2 separate regions of the Homo sapiens genome follow, and region 2 is linked to region 1. The links are contacts of gene promoters, found by promoter capture Hi-C in blood cells and fetal thymus (Javierre and others, 2016). All regions are on one chromosome and are shown on one strand. The core of a region is centred on a gene start or on the middle of the fragment in contact, and the rest is flanking DNA. Distances in the headings are between cores, read along the strand shown. Region 1 holds the start of SLC25A36 (solute carrier family 25 member 36). Region 2 overlaps LOC124909441 (a long non-coding RNA gene).

The links. Contacts are between HindIII fragments. The CHiCAGO score rates a contact against its expected background, and 5 or more counts as called.
Region 2: a contact is called between a fragment that was not itself captured here and the fragment with the promoter of SLC25A36 in region 1, in 1 of 17 cell types (fetal thymus). The highest score is 5.4, in fetal thymus.

What each region holds. Positions count from the first base shown.
Region 1 is chr3:140,938,787-140,945,161 of GRCh38, reverse strand. It overlaps SLC25A36 (solute carrier family 25 member 36), which reads right to left and starts at 3,326. Exons shown (of 7, transcript NM_001104647.3): 1 at 3,067-3,326. The coding sequence starts at 3,107. RefSeq lists enhancers at 2,173-2,402, 2,042-2,889, 2,983-3,352. The HindIII fragment of the contact is 2,098 bases long and covers 2,305-4,402 here.
Region 2 is chr3:141,308,583-141,314,957 of GRCh38, reverse strand. LOC124909441 (a long non-coding RNA gene) reads right to left here. Exons shown (of 4, transcript XR_007096119.1): 3 at 3,202-3,321. Among named protein-coding and RNA genes, the nearest start is that of ZBTB38, 57 kb to the left of the region's middle. RefSeq lists an enhancer at 3,129-3,318. The HindIII fragment of the contact is 5,733 bases long and covers 1-5,458 here.

The sequences.
Region 1 (6,375 bases), core at 2,077-4,576:
AGAGAGTATCTTCTATGAGGAAGTAGACCATCATCAAAAAACCTGTTACTGCTTTAATTTTGAACTTCCCAGCCTTCAGGACTGTTAGAAATATTTGTTATTTATAAGCCACCAGTTTTTGGTATTTTGTAATAGCAGCTTAAACAGAGCAAGACAGAGGAAAAGGAGAGGTAGTAAAAATTAAGGAAATGAGACTAATAAAAATATGGTCAGAGTGAAGCGGAAATAAATCACATTAATTATACTTTTAAGTATTCTACTTCTGCCCTGATCTTCAAGCAAACAGGTGAAATAATTTAACAAATATCGTTCATTATACCCAAATGGGAATTTCCTACTGAATAAATAATAATGATTGAGCAAATGAATGAGCTCCAGGATATAAAAATAGACAGTTCTTAGATCATCTTTGATTTTACTCACTACATATATTAAATTATCTGTCATAAGAGCTGCAAAGAAAATACTTCATCCACTTAAAATCTTAAGGTATATAGCTCCTATTTGAGACAATATCTCCCTCAAATAGAAAAAAAATGAGCTGCCTCTGTAGATATATGCAGCTGATACAATAACTAGACAATGTACAATTCTATCAGTCTTTAAAAATACATTTAATAGTGCTTTCATCTCTATATACATACATTAGAGGTACAGCTAAAATTAAATCACATTTACACCTTTTTTACAGGCTGTCATGATATCGTTCCTTAACTCAATTAACCTAACTACTGACCTTACAAACTCTGAATATTAACTCTGGCAAAAGCATAATGGGATCAAAGGGTGTCTTAAAGAAAGCACGAGTTATGCATGTGAGTATTTCACCCAGAACCAAGGTCCAGTGCTGGTGTTTAACAATACAGCTACTAGGCTATTAGAAATGTGGGATTCCGATAAACATATTTGAATATTACAATTCTACTTATCAGAAAAACAACTTAAAGGCTCCATATTCGGAAAACCCTTGCCTAAGATTAAATACTCTGTGAAAGGTTACTCTTGGTTCTTTTAAAATATACTGGGCTTCCTTTAAAAAGATAAGGTGTGTTTTACTGAACTCACTTATGTAACCACATATAAAAATAAAATCAAGATGAGATGCAAAGGAAGAGAAATTATACGGCTGAGCACCTATCTTGTATCAAATCCTACATACCATATCTCATTTAATACTCTAACTACATATGCTAGACTGGGGGGGAGGGGATGGAGCTCCTAATCTGTGTGTTTAGATGCTACAAACACCTCCCATTCCTGTTCTTAAACCAGAAAACCTATATTTACATGTTTTTATAACAAAATGATGATCCTAATCCAAAGTGGGAAATTAGTGCAATCAAGCTAACATTTATTTCAAATATAAGTATGCCCCATTTTTAACTAAACTTGATACATGAATCCTGAACGCAGAATAATAGAAATGTTAGGAGCTAGAGAAGGGCTTTAGAGATCATATAATACAACCTCCTAATTTTATAGATGAAGCAATTGAAATAAAAGTGTCCATTTTTCACCCAAATTAAAATAGTGCTAGACTACATCTGCGGTCTCCTCACTTCAGGGTTATAGATCTAATTACAAGAGGGAGCTCAATTATTTGCATGAGATCTTTTCAAGAGCATCTACATAGCTACAGAATTTTTTTAAAAAGATTTAATTTGCCTGATTATTGGCAGTAAACATTTCAGAAATATGGAAAGCAAACTGCCTAAACTGGGTCTCACAGATCAATAGAAAAATATTGTTTTTATGCCAGAACAGTGGCCGGCCCATAATTGGTGTACAACAAATATTTGTTGATGAAAGTGTGCCAACCTAAAGAAAGTATTGCCATCACTGGCTCAATAGAGTCCATATGTCCAACTCAAAGCAAGGCACCGTGAATAGAACTGCGTGTGTATTTCTTTCATATTCTTAAAAGTCGATCTAAAAACTGCAGGATTTAAGAAGATGCCGGTAAGAGTCTCAGCATAATTCACCGAAGGCATTTTTGATAAGAAAACTCTTTATAATCCTCCAAATAAGTAACTCTTAAAATTGCTATGATTCTCCAAATGATTTAGAAGGAGCAAATCTAAACAGGAGGCTAAACTGGAAGCTCTAACACTCATTTTGGCAATCAGGGAACTAAGACTTTAGGCTTAGTCCTAATCTTGCACACACATAGTAACTATTAACACTATCTTCAAAAAATCTGACCTCTCTCCACTCCTACTTTCTCCTAAGCAGCAGAAAAGCAAGCGGTGTTCAAGAGGGGTGGTTTTCTCGAAAGGAATCTGACCCCAAAGGTACTGGAAAGCTTTGCACCCCATTCACCACCTGGAAAACCTCGGGCAAGAAATTTTCCAAGGGCTAGAAACACCCTACAGCAACCACGGGAGAATACCAAAGCCTTCCCCGCTCGATCCCGTAGCCCCCTTACCACCCACCTTGCAAAGCCGAGCCCGGAAATGAGCGGCCCGAGGTCCGAGGTGGGGCGTGAGTGACGTGCAGAGGCCCAAGCGAGCGCTGCAAGGAGCGAGGGCTAAAGGAGTCTCCGGCGCCCATTTTGTCCTCAGCCTCCGCACTTTCCGCCCCGTCCCCTTGGGCCATGCAACCTACGCGAAATCCGAAGCCAGGCTCCTCAAAGCGGCCCTGGATCCCCGACGCCTGCTAGATTGCGGCGTGCGGCCAGGTCCAGCGGCGTCCGGGTAATCAAGCGCCGACCCCAGCTCTTGCCCGCGTCTCCTCAGACGCATGGATTCGGCCTCCGCCTCACCCCGGCCCCGCGGGCCCAAAACCTCACTCCCGGCCCGGGTTTCATGCCTCAACCCTCTTTGCCCGGGCCTCACTCTCTCGCCCTCGGGCCCGGGCCTCACCCCCTTGCTTCCCCGAACCGGAGCCCCCCTCACCACCCACGGGCTGGGTCGCTCCCCTCACCCGCAGGCCCGTGGCAGCTCCCCGCCCAGGCCTCACTCCCGCCCCCCCACCCCCCCACCCCCCTCGGCCCCCCTCGCCCCCCTCGCCTGCGTCTTCGGCCCCAGCACCCTCAGCCCCAGTGCGCACGCCCCGCCAGGACCTTACCCTCCGGCAAACAGATGCACCAGCGTGTCCCTCTGGCTCATTCTCTCTCCCGCATGTCCTCCGGCCGCTGAGGCGGGACGCGGATCTGGCCGCCCGCTACGGCAGGCGGCTTCGGTCCCGGACTGGAGACGCACAGCGCCCCGGGGACGGCGAGGAGAGCTGGCCGAGATGCGGCTGCAGAAAGCAACCGGCACAGCCCTCCCCGCGGCACTCCAGCCGCGCCACCGCCTGCCTAAGCGCGCCGCCCTTCACCAGAGGCTGAAAGCGACGCAGCGCAGCGCGACGGAGAGTGGGCGGGGGATGGTAGGGGGAAGATGACTATTTGATGGCTCCCGACATAAACAGAGGCTCCCATTGGTGTGAGCGTCGTGACGTCACGCACTCTGCAGTGTTCTTTCACGTGATCCCTACGGGCTCTTTCAATGAAAGGGGCCGCGAGGCGTGGCCAGAACGCGTGCCCGGAGGGTGGTAGGTCACCGCGCTCCTAGCACCTGAGACCTGGGGCGCCCCTGGCCTGAGTGAACGCGCCAATCACGGCTGCACTCTCCTGAACAGGGAACTGGCGGGGCGGGAAAAATCGACTTGGTTCCGGGTTCGCAAGCGGATTTACTTTGAAAAAATTGGATTTATGACCCAGCAGTTCCCTTGGTGTCTATCTCAGAGTAACCCTCGCACAATGCATAAAAAGGTTTGTGCACGGATACTCCTATATAGGCTCACAAACAGTACAGAATTATGAACAATGCTTGCAGTTGCAGAAAATTGAAATCAGTGGGGGAATGAAGAAATAAATCATGAAACATTCCTACTATGGAATATTATGCAATCGTGACAAGGGATGAGGTGATTCCATATGGCAAAAAATCTCCCGAAGTGTGTAATAAGTAAAAAAGGCAAGTAGAATTAAAATACTTGGGTTTGTTTTTAAAAGAATAAAAGTTCATGGGAAATGGAATTAAAAGATAAAATTTAAAAATATAAACTTTGTTTTTCAACGTAAGCTCCATCAAGTTAAAGACAGTTTGGTAAGTGATGATACCGGCTCTTTAGTCCATCTGTAAAGAATTGAGGGTTCTGGGAATTTAATCATGAAAATGCAGGCTTTTTTACGTTATTAACTGAAGAAAAATGGGTGCCATTTACAGATTTTTCACGATTAGAAAACAAAAATATGTCAGAAGGAGCCAGGTCAGGAATGTAAGATGGATACCTGATAGTTTCCCATCGAAATCCCTGGAAAAATGCCCTTATTTAAAGAGAGGAATGAGCAGGAACATTGTCCTGATGGAGAAGGACTCTCTGGTGAAGATTTCGTAGGTGTTTTTATGCTAAAGCTTTGCTTCACTTTCTCCTATAGTAAGCGGATGTTATTGCTCTTCCACCCTCCAGAAAGTCAACAGGCAAAATACCTTGAGCATCCCAAAAAGCTGCTGCTATGACTTCGGCTCTTGACCAGTCTACTTTTGATTTGACTGGACCACTTGCACCTCTTGGTAACTATTGCTTTGATCCAGAATCATACTGAGAAAGCTATGTTTGATCTCCTGTTACAATTCTTCAAAGAAATGTTTCAATATATGATCCCACTTGTTTACAATTTCCATTGAAAGCCCTGCTCTTGTCTGCAGCTCATCTGGGTGCAACAGTTTTGCACCCATCGGGTGAAAAGTTTGCTCAACTTCAGTTTTTCAGTGAGAAATGTGTAAGTAGAACCAGTTGAAATGTCTATGGTGTTGTATATTATTTGTGCTGTTAATTGTGGGTCCTCTTCAATTAGGGCACACCGAAGAATAATCTTTTCCTCAAAAATCGATGTGGATTGTCTGCCACTGCAGGCTTCCTCTTCAACATTGTCTCATCCCTTCTGCAAACAAGTTATCCATTTGTAAACTTCAGATTTCTTTGGGGGAATTTTCCCCATCAAACTTTTGTAAAGCATCCTTGATTTCACCATTCTTCCACCCAATCTTGACCATAAATTTGATGTTTTTTCTTGCTTCAATTCATGCTGCTCTGATAGGGGCTGTTTTCAAGCTGATGTCTTATCCTTTTTAGTGCCTCAAACTAGATCTTGTTCAGATACATTATAACAAGTGAGTACGAATTTTTGGTGCAAAAAAGTTTGAAATTCATACATAGTTTTTTTTTTAGTTAGGAAAAATGTTTATATAAATTTAAATTTACATATATTCCATCCTTCTCTTAACTGAAAAGAGTAAGAAACTTTCTGAGATTTTCTTTGTTACCAGTTCCTTTTTTTTTTTTTTTTTTAATATACTTTAAGTTCTGGGATACATGTGGAGAATGTGGAGGTTTGTTATGTAGGTATACATGTGCCATGGTAGTTTGCTGCACCCATTAACTCGTTGTCTACATTAGGTATTTCTCCTAATGCTATCCATCCCCTTGCCCCCCAACCCCCGACAGGCCCCAGAGTGGATGTTCCCCTCCCTGTACCCATATGTTCTCATTTTTCAACTCCCACTTATGAGTGAGAACATGGGGTGTTTGGTTTTCTGTTCTTGTGTTAGTTTGCTGAGAATGATGGTTTGCAGCGTCATCCATGTCCCTCCAAAGGACATGATCTCATCTTTTTTATGGCCGCATAGTATTCCATGGTGTGTATGTGCCACATTTTCTTTATCCAGTCTAACATTGATGGGCATTTGGGTTGGTTCCAAGTCTTTGCTATTGTGAATAGTGCTGCCAGAAACATACGTGTGCATGTGTCTTTATAGTAGAATGATTTATAGACCTCTGGGTATATACCCAGTAATAGGATTGCTGGGTCAAATGGTATTTCTAGATCCTTGAGGAATCGCCACACCATCTTCCACAATCGTTGAACTTATTTACACTCCCACACTGTTACCCAGTGTGAAAGCATTCCTATTTCCCCACCTTCTCTCCAGCGTCTGTTGTTTCCTGACTTTTCAATGATCGCCATTCTAACTGGCGTGAGATGGTATCTCATTGTGGTTTGCATTTGCATTTCTCTAATGACTAGTGGTGATGAGCTTTTTTTCATATGTTTGTTGGCCACATAAACGTCTTGTTTTGAGAAGTGTCTGTTCATATCCTTCATTCATTTTTTGATGGGATTGTTTTTGTTGTTGTTTTGTTTTTGTTTTTGCTTGTTTTTTTTGAAACAGAGTCTTGCTCTTGTTACCCAGGCTGGAGTGCAATGGTGCAATCTCAGCTCACTGCAACCTCCACCTCCTGGGTTCAAGTGGTTCTCCTGCCTCAGCCTCCGTAGTAACTGGGATTAGAGGTGCCTGCCACCATGCGCAGCTAATTTTTTTTTTTTTT
Region 2 (6,375 bases), core at 1,343-3,842, 370 kb before region 1:
GATTACAGGCGTGAGCCACCACGTCCAGCCTGGATAAGTTTTTCAAAATTCTAACCTTTTTCTTGAAAACTCAAATTTTCTCATTGGCATCAAATAATGTCAGTTGTTTCCTTTGAAGTGATTAGCTTACTTTGTTTTTTTTAGAAAATGTCTATTAAATACTCAGGTCCCAATCATACTATCAGTTATCAAAAGAGGTGTTTTCCACGTATGCTTATTGCAGCACTATTCACAACAGCAAATACTTGGAACCAACCCAAATGGCCATCAATGATAGACTGAATAAAGAAAATGTGGCACATATACACCATGGAATACTATGCAGCCATCAAAAAGAATGAGATCATGTCCTTTGCAGGGACATGGATGAAGCTGGAAGCCATCATTCTCAGCAAACTAACACAGGAACAGAAAACCAAACACTGCATGTTCTCATTCATAAGTGGGAGTTGAACGATGAAAACACATGGACACAAGGAAGGGAACAACACACACTGGAGCCTGTCGGCGGTGGGGACAAGGGGAGGGAGAGCATTAGGACAAATACCTAATGTATGCGGGGCTTAAAACCTAGATGACAGGTTGATAGGTGCAGCAAACCACCATGGCACATGTATACCTATGTAACAAACCTGCACATTCTGTACATGTATCCTGGAACTTAAAGTAAAATAAATAAATAAATAAAAGTTTGCAAAAATACAATGAAAATAAAAGAGGTGTTTTCCAGAAAAAAAGGTCTAGTTCAGCTACGAACTCAAGCACAGAACTGCTTTTCCTCAGGACATAATACCTTGGTGTGCAGCAGACTTGCTTTATGCGCACTTCCCATTTGTCACACAAAATATTTAAACGTCATGTAATCAAGGCTCAAAATGGAGTAAAATGAATACTCTTTACAGCTTCATTAAGGACATTAAGTGGAACTGGCTTTCCCATCCCCTTCCCCTACAAGTATACTGGTGAAAAATACAGTAACTGCCAATATAGTTTGGTGCCACTGCCTTGAATCACACCAAGGTTCCAGCAGTTTTACCTATGATTTTAAACGTAAATGTCACTACAGTGAAAAATGCAAATAAAACTTAGTATTATTGTGAAAACAGTTTTGACCTTGCAGATTCCCTAAAAGGATCTCAGGGATCTCCAAAGGTCTACCCAGGTAGGAAATGTGGTAACATGGAGCAACATGGGAGAAGGGACAGGCACCTCTGGGAAGCCTGTACTTCATGAAACTGTCTGTCAGAAGACACTCAGTTACCAGTGGTTGTAGCTCCCTAGGAGCGGTTGTGATGCAGGACAGGAGAGCCACAAAATGTGGCTTTTTCCTTGGCTTTGCCCAGTAAAGAATTCAAGGGCTAGCTGGTGGCAGGGTAGCCGAAAACAGCTTGATTGAAGTGGCAGTGTTACAGCTCCATGACTGATCCTGCAGAGCAGGACTACCCCATAGGCAGAGAGTAGCTGCTCAGGGCAGTTCTATGGTCATATTTATACCTATTTTTAATTGCATGCAGATTAAGTGTTGGTTTATGCAGAATTTTCTAGGAAAAGGGGAGTAACTTCTGCGTCATCGGGTCATTGCCATGGAAAGAGGCGGGAACTCCCGGGTGTAGCCATGGTTACGGTAAACTGACATGGCACACTGGTGGACATGTCTTATGGAAAGTTGTTTCTGCCTCATCCTTGTTTTAGTTCATCCAGTTACGTCTATTTCTCGACAGGTCCTCTAAGTGGCTCTAAAGGGGAAAGGTGAAAATATGCCATGGGGCCCATTGCTAGGGTCTGAGGGATAAGGCTGGGAGTGGAGGAAGTGAGGAAGAAGGCCGGCCACCTACAGAACTCAGGCATTTGAGAAGATAAGCTGGATGAGCCCAGGCCACAGGAAAATTATCTTCTTGGGAACAGAGGTGGCAGATCAGGAGCCACAGATCTCCCCGCCACCCCCCAGCTACTGTCCACGCCTGTCTCCACCGCCTGAAGCCCCTCCTCCGACAGCCACAGCCAGAAGTAGAAGAGCTGTGGAACTCACATGTAGGGCTCTGTGGGTTTGGCTCTTAGAGTCAAGATGGTCACCGCCTCCAAGCGGCAGATAAGCAATGCAGGACTGGAGATAAGGGCGAGGGACAGACCATCTAGCCACCAGCCTCTACCCCCTAGAGACACCAAGAGGTGGGCAGAGAGCAAGTACTGGCCACAGGCAAAGCCAGAGCAGGCAGAGGGAGTGTATAGAACACCCTTGACATAAGTAACTCCATCTTAGCAAAAGACTCCACTTTACGTTTCAAAAGGCATCATGCCAACAGAGTCCCGATGTTCGCCTAACCAAAAAAGAGTGTATCCAACCAAATACGGGCATAAACAGGCACACTCCTTCACTATCAGTCGTCACCAGAAGACCCCCGTGGCCATAAAAAGAGCAGGACTTCTCTAGCTCTAAATGGCCGTCTTAACAGACCCTATCTTGCTGTCGCCCATGATAAACACCCGGCATCTGCTGCCTAAGGCTTTGCCCACATCAAAGACTCTTCCTTGCAAGACATTGAGGCCAGGACACCTTGTCTCTCCTGGGACTAGTTTGTTAACCCCTTTTCCTATCTATCTCCTTTGCTCTTGATGTTAAATGTTACCCTGCTTGATGTGGAATATTTAATCTACAACATTTAACATGTTGACTAAGTAGACTATTTTGTATGCTTTGCAATACTGACTTGGTGTAGTGGCTGAAGCCTGTGTGCCTATGGCTCTGACTACGGAGTGAGCGAGTGAGCGGGTAGTGTTAGGGGAATTGCCTCCTTGGGAACTCCATGTAGCTCCTGGCTTTTATGACTGGAATAGCATCAGTAAAAGTCTCACCTGGCGGAAAGACACAAACGTGGTGGACCTGGTTCTGTCTGACCCTCCTTGCTCGACTCAACGACAGAGAATGAGCTGGGAATAAGGGCAATGCACAGCCAACAGCGGAAGGGCTGTGGCCAGGCCCCTTCCTTCCTAAGTCCGGGTTTCTCTGGCTCACGAACGACCCCTGGAGGTAGACACCCGGCGACACCGCCCACCGGTCTATCCCTTCAGAAACCCTGTTCCCTGCCCGGTTGGCCCGCCTTCCGCTTTCGAAAGCAGAGGCAGTTCCGGGGTGGGAACCGCGCGGAGCTTTCTGGGAAATGTAGTCCTTGTCAAGAGGCTTCTGGGAGTCGTAGTCCCTACCTGTTCTTCCGGCGCACGGCCTTTCCGTTTTCCTGTTGCGGGTTCTATCGCTCTGCGGCGTGGGAAAGAGGCGTGCGCGTCCTTGCGTGGTCCTGCTTCGACCTGTGGTCTCTCTGGCTTCTGGTCGGGTGGGGAAGGTTTATGGGGTGGAACGTGAGAGACAGGCTTGGGCACTTTTGCGTCTGGCAGTTAGGCAGCAGGTGGTAGTTTCCATGATGGGGACGCAGGGGCAGCGCCAAAGGGCCCCAGAGAACGAGGCATCCAAGGGGGAAGGGGTGTGGGATACGAGCCGACTGAGGGGAGACGCGCCCAAAGCCGGGGACCTCACTACCCCAGAGTCGACCTTGAAAGAGCCCTCGAGTCAGACTGAGGAGATGGGCAGTATCCTCCGACAATGGAAAGCCGTTGTTCGCTTCAGGGGAGACGCGCTGTGACCCAAAAGTCATTTTACCGTCATCACTATTGCTGCAGTTCATTCAGAAGGGTTTTGGGGGAGGCCATTGAAGGCTGAGCAGCAGCCCAGGGAGAGTTGATGGGGGCTGATGGTGGGAGTGGCAGCATGGATTCAGTGGATGATGAGGGATCAGGGAGTGGGGCGAGTTGAGGATTCCCAGTTTTCTGGTGTGGGCTGTAGGCCTGTCTGCAGATACTCTCACCTAGTGGAATTCTTTTCCGTAACCTGTCTTAACTTAATGAGAGGCTTGATGGGTAAATGGTTAAAGATGCACGTGCACATCCCTTCACCAAACCATTCAGATGCTCACACTAAACCCAAAGGCCACTCGTTCACTTATGCACACAGCTCAGTTATACCTACCCTTGTGAACACACCGGTATGTAGTACACACAGCCACATAACAATTCATGATCACATACTCCTGGCATCAAACAAAGGGTAAATATATCCATCTCAGTTTAAACGGCCTCTGCTATCTTGGGCGAAGTGTGACCTCCACACAAGAAGGACCCAGGTTGACTTCCTCAGTCCTCTCTGGAAACTTCAAACAGCTCAGCCTTTATCCTTTCTCTTGGCTACATCCACCTCCTCTAAGGTCCTCTGACTCTTCCTAGTCATCTTCTGCCACTCTGGCTTGATGGGAGGGAGATAGAAATGGGCTTGAATTCAGACAAGGGCTTTGCTTATCTGAAATGTGTTTGCTGAGGTTCTTATTCCCAGAGCAGTAGCTCTGAACATAATATTTCGTGTGTGCTGAATTCTGTTGAGAATCCAAAGAAAGTTGTGAACCCTCTTCCTGGATAAACACACATCTTTACATCCACACTGTTTTGAAAGCAAAATTGAAACCCATATGTCGGGCCCTGGTTAAGAACCTCACCAGAAGATCAGAACATCAGTTTCCTGATTGCCCTCTGTCTTAGCTCATTCAGGCTGCTCTAACAAAATACCTTAGACTAGGTAATTTATAAGTAACAGAAATATATTGTTTACAGTTTTGGAGGCAAGGAAGTCCAAGATCAAGGACTGGACTGGTGAAGGCTTACTCTCTGCTTCAAAGATGATGCTTGGGGCTGGGCGCGGTGGCTCACGCCTGTAATCCCAGCACTTTGGGAGGCCAAGGCAGACGGATCACGAGGTCAGGAGATCGAGACCATCCTGGCTAGCACGGTGAAACCCTGTCTCTACTAAAAATAAAAAAAAAAATTGGCCGGGCATGGTGGCAGGTGCCTGTGGTCCCAGCTACTTGGGAGGCTGAGGCAGAAGAATGGCATGAACCCGGGAGGCAGAGCTTATAGTGAGCCGAGATCAAGCCACTGCACTCCAGCCTGGGCGACAGAGCGAGACTGTCTCAAAAAAAAAAAAAAAGATGGTGCCTTGTAGCTGTGTCCTCACATGGTGGAAGGGCCAAAGGGCCAAGTTAGCTCCCTTCAATTCCAACTCCTTTTATAAGGCCACTAAGCCCATTCCTGAGGCAGAGCCTTCATGAATTAATCACTTCCCCAAAGGTCCCATCTCTTAATACTATCACATTGGGTATTAGGTTCCAATATATGAATTTGGGGAGATCACCAATATTCTGACCATAACACCCTTTCTGCAGTCTTCAAGTGGCTCAAGAGGGGGAGAAGAATAGGGTCTCAATCCCCATAGGAGTTGGAGTGTGAGGAAGGGGCAGCCTCTTCTCCCATCCATCTGTAACCCTTAGTTATGGAGCCAGACATCAGTTATTGTTGGTCCTCCACTGGGCAGTCAGTCATTCAGCTGGTTAAAGAGTCAGTTATGTAGTCAGTTTAAGCTTGTCAGATGTTTAGTTACCTACAGTTAGTACATCAGTAAGAAATCCAGTAGGTGGCCAGGTGTGGTGGCTCATGCCTGTAATCCCAGCACTTTGGGAGGCCGAGGCGGGCAGATCACGAGGTCAGGAGATTGAGACAAGCCTGGCTAACACAGTGAAACCCCGTCTCTACTAAAAATACTATATGTATATATATATATATATATATATATATGGTGGCGGGCGCCTGTAGTCCCAGCTACTTAGGAGGCCGAGGCAGGAGAATGGCATGAACCCGGGGGGCAGAGCTTGCAGTGAGCGGAGATCACGCCACTGCACTCCAGCCTGGGCAACAGTGCGAGACTCCGCCTCAAAAACAAAAAACCAAAAAGCAACAAAAAAAGAAATCCATTAGGTCAATCAAGTGATTTGTGTGTTTAGATATTTAATCAGCCAACCAGCCAGTCAATTACTCAGGATTAACTTTTCAGATAGACAGTGGTCCATCAGGATCCATCAGTCAGAAAGTCAATTTAATGGTCAGTCTGTCAATCAGAGTGCTAGTTGTTTAAAATGCTAAACACCTGGCTCATCAGTGGGACAAAAGGGCAGCTGGGGTGAGGCCATCTGGACACAGAGCGTGTCTCTACTTGCTACAGCTGGAAAATAATGTACACAGGTGGGGAGAAGATTTGACTCCTCCTGGGCCGCCAGAGGGAGCTTTGGTTTGCTGGGAAAGAGGCCTCACGTGGTGTGGTTGACAGGGAAAGAGGAAAAGCGGCAAAACGTGGGCCAGGCGGAGTTGCCACCAGAAGGTGGTGTGGCCTTCCTTCACGTCTCCACCCTGCATACTCCATCGGCTTAACTTTAGGCTTGAAGGAGCCCACTTCTGGCCGGCTTTTGAGGAAAGGCCCCTGGAAGGACTTCCCATCCTAGGGCG